Linked DNA regions of Homo sapiens: regions 2 and 3 are each linked to region 1. The links are contacts of gene promoters, found by promoter capture Hi-C in blood cells and fetal thymus (Javierre and others, 2016). All regions are on one chromosome and are shown on one strand. The core of a region is centred on a gene start or on the middle of the fragment in contact, and the rest is flanking DNA. Distances in the headings are between cores, read along the strand shown.

Region 1 (2,700 bases), core at 48-2,547:
GCCACTCGGGAGGCTGAGGCAGGAGAATGGCATGAACCCAGAGGCGGAGCTTGCAGTGAGCCGAGATCGTGCCACTGCACTCCAGCTTGGGCGACAGAACGAGATTCCATCTCAAGAAAAACAAAGAAAAAAAAGAAAAGCAGCTATGATCACCAAAGATCAGTCAGACCTAGAGGCCTCTTCTCTCATCCCGGAACGTGTACCTCATAGAACTTTTGGCTTTCCAGGATACTATACATATTAAGGTCCTGATATTAATTCACAGGTCCAGCATGGGATTCACATCCTCAAGGACATGGCCACCTGCACTTCTGAGTTGTCTTTGAGTGGCCCCAAACTGGATCTTTGCAGGTTCCAGACTAGTGGGGCTGGTAGGACAATCTTTGAAGCTAGACCAGTTACTGGGCCTCTCAGGAAGAGGCACCCACAACCACCATCCTGAACTAAGGTCTGAGCTGGAGGTTCTCCATTTGGTCAAGTGCCAGTTGGTGAATTCCAAGAGTATCAGAGATATCTGAAAGTGACTCAGACCCTCTATGGGACTATGGGTGGTCCTTTTGCTTATTTTTCTAATTGTTCTACAACAAAATGTGTTATTTTTGTGATTACAAAGAGTATATGTCTAGCGGCTGGGTTGCCAGGTGCATTCTATTTATTGGTATCACACTGGTCTTTGCTTTATAATTACAGTATTTGTTAAAATACAAATTTGTTTAAAGACTTTCCTCTGTGTATGCTCTCTTCCACAATTTTCAAAGTGTTTAATAAGGTGCACATATTTGGTTTTCTTTTTTTTCTTTTCTTTTTTTTGAGACGGAGTTTCGCTCTTGTTGCCCAGACTGGAGTGCAATGGCGCGATCTCGGCTCACCGCAACCTCCGCCTCGCGGGTTCAAGCGAGTCTCCTGCCTCAGCCTCCTGAGTAGCTAGGATTACAGGCATGCGCCACCACGTCTGGCTAATTTTGTATTTTTAGTAGAGATGGGGTTTCTCCATGTTGGTCAGGCTGGTCTCGAACTCCCGACCTCAGGTGATCCACCCGCCTCAGCCTCCCAAAGTGCTGGGATTACAGGCGTAGAGCCACCGATCCCGGCCTGTTTTTCAGTCTCTAATACACTGTTCCGCGTCCCTAGCATAGTAGCTGTTTTCTGTAAATTCGGAGCGAAGTTGACTGCAAAACCCGCCGGGTTCACCGGCCTGGGCGGTGTGGACTTCAAGCCCCAGGAGGCATTGCGGCCGGCACATCGGGAACTACGGCGTCTGAGAAGGGGGCCGGGCCCTCCGGTCCTTTCCCTCCCAGAAGCCCGCGGGCGGCTCGGAACGCTGTTTCTATCATGGCCGCGGGAGCCGGGACGGCGGGCCCCGCTTCCGGCCCGGGCGTCGTGCGTGACCCAGCGGCGTCACAGCCGAGGAAGCGGCCCGGCCGGGAGGGCGGGGAGGGCGCGCGGCGATCGGACACGATGGCGGGAGGAGGCGGGAGTAGCGACGGCAGCGGGCGGGCAGCTGGCAGGCGGGCGTCCCGCAGTAGCGGGCGGGCCCGGCGGGGGCGCCACGAGCCGGGGCTGGGGGGCCCGGCGGAGCGCGGCGCGGGGGAGGCACGGCTGGAAGAGGCAGTCAATCGCTGGGTGCTCAAGTTCTACTTCCACGAGGCGCTGCGGGCCTTTCGGGGTAGCCGGTACGGGGACTTCAGACAGATCCGGGACATCATGCAGGGTGAGGGCCGGGCCGGGGGAGGGGGGTTGGAGCGCCGGGGAAGGGGGTCCGGGGGACCGGGAGTCGGGACTGGGGGTCGCCCAGCCAACGATGTCTTCTCTCCCAGCTTTGCTTGTCAGGCCCTTGGGGAAGGAGCACACCGTGTCCCGATTGCTGCGGGTTATGCAGTGTCTGTCGCGGATTGAAGAAGGGGAAAATTTAGGTATGGCTATTTTTGTGTTCTTCTCTGGGCTTACTTGCGTAGGGTTTTGTTTTAAAACTTATATCTAGAACTGAAGGATTCCAGGTTAAAGTGCGATAGTTTCCATCAGAGTGGTCTTTTTCATTCTACGATGGGTCTGTTTTCTGGCTCGACTGGCTCTAGTTTTCTCCGGTTAAGGTTGTCTTGGCTGCTTTTCTGTGTTTTTTTTAAATCTTCTCCCACCTGTTAATTGCTCACCCCAACTTTGCTCCTGTCTAAAGTGAGTTATGTTCATATGGACATCTTTTTTCCCCCATGGTAGAGAGTTTTTCAGAGTGGAAGTACTCTGACATTTTTCCCCTCTGAATTTAACTTGAAAGCTATTTAGCTGTTGTCAGTTTCTTGCCACTCGTATCTGAGGAGGATGGGTATATTCTGAATTTGAGAGGCAAATGCAGGTATTTAAAAATAATTTTTTTGCCTGTCTTGACAGGTGTTAAAAAATGGTCACGTTAAATTCATTGATTTGAATTTGGACCCTTATCGTGTATGTCAACCTGTAGCAAATATGTCAAAAAATTAAATGCAAATCTTACCATATTTGCATGCTCCATTTCCATAAATATATATATATAATTTTTGGACATAACTTTTTTACCCTTAGAAAAGAGCTTAAAAATGAAAACTGTGCTTTGTCCTAGACTGTTCCTTTGATATGGAGGCTGAGCTCACACCACTGGAATCAGCTATCAATGTGCTGGAGATGATTAAAACGGAATTTACACTGACAGAAGCAGTGGTCGAATCC
Region 2 (2,700 bases), core at 194-2,693, 260 kb before region 1:
ACAATATTGTTAGTTATCTTTCCTTTTGAGCAATGGTGTGGTGTCCCACACCTGTAATTCCAGCACTTTGGGAGGCCAAGCGGGGTGGATCACCTGAGGTCAGGAGTTTGAGACCATCCTGGCCAACATGGTGAAACCCCGTCTCTACTAAAACTACAAAAAATTAGCCAGGAGTGGTGGCAGGCACCTGTAATCCCATCTACTCGGGAGGCTGAGGCAGGAGAATCACTTGAACCCAGGAGGTGCAGGTTGCAGTGAGCCCAGATCGTGCCATTGCACTCCAGCCTGGTCAACAAGAGCAAAACTCCGTCTCAAAAAAAAAAAAAAAATTCACGTATGTTTTTAAATAAAGTCAGGGTCATAGCTTTCTCTGTGACCCTCCTAGTCCTAAGTTTTGACTCACATCAAAGATCCAGGAGCCAGATGACTGTGAAGAAAAATCTCCTCTAAAAGCAACCAGATTCCAGTAGGAATATTACGACTTCAAACACAGAGAAGCTAAGCAGGCTTAAACCTGGCTCTAATGTTTACCCCTCCAGCTGTAACCAAGTTGTTGCCTTAATCATCAAGAACAAAGTGAGGAAAGGCACTATCTTCAATGGAAATGGGGAGTAGGTTGAATCCTTGGCTAGGAAAGAGGCAAAAGAATGGAGCAAAGAAGGAATGAAACTAGCATAGGAATTCAGTAAGACTGATAGATGAGAGGAAAAGTTCTCAAGGCGCAATACTGTGCTTAATCATCTTTATATTCCCTGAACCTGGCACACTTCCTGAAACATAACAGGTGCTGAAGAAATGTTTGTTGATGAAGGCAAAGAAGAAGAAAGGGACAAAGAAAGGAAAGCAGAGGGATAAAGAAGCTTCTGTAATATTAAGATGAGAAAGATCCTAACTGGACAAGGAATGCCATTCGTGTAAATTTGACATAAGTAAATCAAAGATTACTTGTGCAAGTCATTTAAAAGGCCCTGGAAGAATAAATTCTATGAACATAAGTATCAAGTTGAAGCTGGAACAATGGGCAGTAAACCCTGTTTTTCTTTTCATCATTCTGGGTACAGATTCAAACATTTGGTCTAACTAGTGTGCAGTTCCTCACACATGAAAGTCTATGATATTCTGTTTTATACTAATCTTAAAGTAAAAATATTCATTTATTGAAACTATGTAGAAATATCCCCCAAATATACATACAAAGAGATGAAAGAAAATACTGCAAAATGATAATAGCAGATTTACTGAGTGACTAGATTATGAGGTTTTCTTGTATTTTTCAAATATTTGTAATTCATATGTATCAATTTTATAATAGAAAAGGGAAAATTTTAGTTTGAAATACAAGGAAAATTCATAGAGCATATCGATTAACTTGGCAAGACATGTTTTTATACTCACTTATGCTAGTCAAGCTAATATTTATAAGGGCAAATAAATGAAAGTGAGTTTTACTAGTCTAGCAAAACAAATGATCTCACTTGGGATGAAGTATTGAGTGAGTATACACATTATGGCTTAAAGAAGAATATCATGTAATTAAGCAATTTCTAAAATGGTACTTTAGAAGTTCTTAAAACTATCTTTTTTTTCTAAAATGTAAAAATGGAATACATACATATTGAGATGTATAGACATGTAAAACCATGAAAACATCCACTAATGCTTAGAAACGTAGTCAAGTTACTAATTTTTAAGGCATGATGGCTTAAGAAAAAATAAAGTAGCAGTCAGTTACATGGGATTTTACTTCTAAATGACAACCAAAAAGGAAAATCCACCATCATGGCATATTCTATTCAGAAGTCTTAAAATGACATTCTAATTTATTCGTGCCGCATAATCCTTCTGGTGACCTATGTCAAAAAAATAATTTTCATTACAAAAAGCCTAAAGTAGGTTTCACATCCAGATGACATCCTATCTTAACTTATAGAAATATCTAGAAGAGACATGGGGCAACTGATTCTCAGGACATTTAGTTGAGAAATTTAAGAATGATATGGCTAGGAATATTCAAATACTAAGCTTTTTTTTTTAATGGTTTTATTCTCTTATTAGACTCTAACATCTTAGTCATATAAAAATGCTATTTTCATCTACAAGCTATCAGATTTCTATGTGGTATCTTGAAGATCAATAAACTGCTGTATACATTTTAAAGTACATTTTCTAAATACTTAGTATGATATAAATTGTAGATTTATGGCACATTAGATCTAAGGCTATATCCTTATCTCTCAAAACATTTTAAGATTTTTTTCACTGTTGAAGAATACAGGCTTTTAGCTTGACATGCTCTGAAAAATTATTTTTAAGGCCGATTTTTCTATATATTTAGGTATGGTTTCATCCTTTCCTCAATATAGTTGTTATAAATTCCAATTTTAAAATTCTTCCATCATTTCCATATACTAGTTTCAAATATTTTTTTCATTACCTAAGAAGCTGGACATTTCTTCTGCTTGATGGAATTTCTGCTCCATGAATTATTTCATGAAAGAGTCTGTCTTGACCAATGTCATTATACTTTCCCTGGGTAACCTCAAATCATTTCTAAGATATAGCTATCATACAAAAGTAGAAGCAGAAAAATGAAGGTCAAGATATTTAATTAGCAACTGCAAATCACTGTTTACTAGCCATAAGTAAAAATTCTATTTGCTCTAAATTTGAACCTTCAACATTCATTTTGATATAAAAATG
Region 3 (2,700 bases), core at 137-2,636, 390 kb before region 1:
TATCTGTTTCTCCAGGTCTTAGTCACGTAAATTTATATGATATAAATTTGCATGCTTTTCACTTTTTCTTTTCTTTTCTTTTTTTTTTTTTTTTGAGACAGTCTTGCTCTGTCACCCAGGCTGGAGTGCTGTGGCGTGATCTCAGCTCACTGCACCTCCACCTCCCAGATTCAAGTGATTCTCATGCCTCAGCCTCCTGAGTAGCTAGGGTTACAGGTACATGCCACCATGCCTGGCTAATTTTGGTATTTTTAGTAGAGATAGGATTTTACCAAGTTGTCCAGACTGGTCTTGAACTCCTAGGCTCAAGCCATCCTCCTGCCTTGGCCTCCCAAAGTGATGGGATTATAAACGTAAGCCACAGCACCTGGCCAAAATAGAAATTAAAAAGGCATGAACAGGAAGGTCTCACTGAGAAGGTGACATTTGAGCAAAGATCTGAAGAAGCTGAAGGAAGAAACTGAGAGTATCTGCAAAACATTCAGATAGATAAAAGGGTATGATGGCCAGCAGTGGTGGCTCATGCATGTAATCCCAGCACCTTAGGAGGCCAAGTCAGGTGGATCACTTGAATCCAGGAGTTCGAGACCAGCCTGAACAATAGGGCAAAACCTCGTCTCAACAAAAACCACAAAAATTAGCCATGGTGGCACATGCCTGTAGTCACAGTTACTCGGGAGGCTGAGGTGAGGTGGGAGGATCGCTTGAGCCTGGGAGGTCTAGGCTGCAGTGAGCTATGATCACGCCACTGCACTCCAGCTAGGTGACAGAGCAAGACCCTGTCTCAAAAAAAAAATGCTGTTGAGGTGACAGCATGTCTGGGGAATACAAGGAAGGAAAGAGGCCAATGTTGGGTGGAAATGTAAGATGGAAAGAATAACAATAAGATAACAGATGTAATTGAATGTGTAGAGTTAGGTTAAATTATCCTTAATGAAGGATCAAATGCCTTGGAGCAGTGGTTCTCCATCCTTTCTAGACATCTGAATTATCTGGGGAGCATTAAAAAAAAACAACACTGACCACCAAACCCTACCCTCAGAGATTCCCATTTAATTGGTCTGGGGTGGGCCAGGGACAGCTGTGTTATTTAAAAATTCCCCAAGTGATCCTAATATGAAGCTGGGTTGAGGACCACTGGTTTACTGTTAATGAATTTGTTGAAACCTCAACTAATGTGACTGCACTAAAAGGAGTGCTTTAGACCTCAGCTAATTTGGCTGAACTAAAAAAATGCAAAAAATTTGCATAGAAAATTATGCAAATGAAAAACTGGGGCAGCTGGGTGTAGTGGCTCATGCCTGTAATCCAAGCACTTTGGGAGGCTGATGTGGGCAGACTGCTTGAGCCCAGGAATTCGAGACCAGTCTAGGCAACATAGAGAAACCCCATTTCTACAAAAAATACAAAAAATTAGTCAGACATGGTGGTGCATGCCTGTAGTCCCAGCTACTCAGGAGGCTGAGGTGGGAAATCACCAGAACCCAGGAGGTCAAGGCTGCAGTGAGCTGTAATCACTCCACTGCACTCCAGCCTGAGCAACAGAGGAAGACCCTGTTTCAAAAGAAAAAAAAGAAAAGGTGGCTGGGCGTGGTGGCTCATGCCTGTAATTCTAGCACTTTGGGAGGCCGAGGTGGGTGGACCACATGAGGTCAAGAGTTCGAGATCAGCCCGGCCAACATAGTGAAACCCAATCTCTACTAAAAATAAAAAAATTATCTGGGTGTGGTAGTGAGTGCCTGTAATCTCAGCTACTTGGGAGGCTGAGGCAGGAGAATCACTTGAACCTGGGAGGCGAAGGTTGCAGTGAGCCAAGATTGTGCCATTGCACTCCAGCCTGAGCGACAGCATGAGAGTCATCTCAAAAAAAAAAAAGGAGCAACGTGTATCGGTAGGAACAGAATACAATGAAGGAGCTCCCCGTCAGGACTGTTGCTAAGGAAACAAAGTAGTAGCGACACTAGCGTCTTCCCAGAGGCCAGTTCTTCCCTTAGCCTTCCAGGAGCTCTCAATACACAGAGCAGACTACACATACATTTATCTCTGTTCCCTTCTCAAACTCCATCAAAATGACAGGAAGCAATACAAAAAGGTGAAAACCCACAGAAAGGGAAAAAAACACAACGGAAACAGCAGCAAAATTTTGGAAAATGGTTCCAGTGTGTCGAAACTGAAACTTAGCTGCCCACAAGAGAGGTCAACAGAAGGCAAGCAGACTGGCAATGAAGAATTCCAGAAAGGGTCAATCACTGGTGGTGAGGCAGGAGGGAGGACTCGACTCAGGACCAGACTGAAGACTGGCTGAAACAGGGAAGAGGCACCAAAAGCACCTCCCCACAAGACACACCCACCAGTGCCATGACAGTGTGCCAATGCCATGGTAATGCCCCAGAAGTTACCACTTTTCTAGAAATGTCTAATAGCCCACTCCTTAACTTGCATATAATTAAAACTGGGTATAAATATGACAGCAAAACTGCCCCTGAGCTGCTACTAGGGACACACTGCCTATAGCGTAGCCCTGCTCTGCAGGAGCAGTCACGGAGCTGTAACTCTGCTGCCTCAATAAAGCTGTTTTCTTCTACTACCAGCTTGCCCTTGAATTCTTTCCAGGGCAAAGCCAAGAACCTACCCAGACTAACCCCCAGTTTTGGGGCTCACGTGCCCTGCATCAGTAGTACAGGTACCTCCGAAAGTAAG

What was found. The method cuts DNA at HindIII sites, captures the fragments that hold promoters and counts their contacts. A CHiCAGO score of 5 or more calls a contact.
Region 2: a fragment that was not itself captured here is called in contact with the fragment with the promoter of TERF2 in region 1 in 1 of 17 cell types (activated CD4 T cells); the score reaches 5.6 in activated CD4 T cells.
Region 3: a fragment that was not itself captured here is called in contact with the fragment with the promoter of TERF2 in region 1 in 1 of 17 cell types (neutrophils); the score reaches 5.1 in neutrophils.

The regions. Positions count from the first base shown.
Region 1 is chr16:69,384,604-69,387,303 of GRCh38, reverse strand. It overlaps TERF2 (telomeric repeat binding factor 2), which reads left to right and starts at 1,297. Exons shown (of 10, transcript NM_005652.5): 1 at 1,297-1,711; 2 at 1,818-1,913; 3 at 2,594-2,700. The coding sequence starts at 1,333. RefSeq lists a silencer at 1,302-1,681. The HindIII fragment of the contact is 13,848 bases long and covers 1-2,700 here.
Region 2 is chr16:69,649,301-69,652,000 of GRCh38, reverse strand. All of the region lies in intron 4 of NFAT5 (nuclear factor of activated T cells 5), which reads right to left. Among named protein-coding and RNA genes, the nearest start is that of SNORD13H, 58 kb to the left of the region's middle. The HindIII fragment of the contact is 1,162 bases long and covers 863-2,024 here.
Region 3 is chr16:69,772,361-69,775,060 of GRCh38, reverse strand. All of the region lies in intron 1 of WWP2 (WW domain containing E3 ubiquitin protein ligase 2), which reads right to left. Among named protein-coding and RNA genes, the nearest start is that of WWP2, 11 kb to the right of the region's middle. RefSeq lists an enhancer at 1,578-1,777. The HindIII fragment of the contact is 6,611 bases long and covers 1-2,700 here.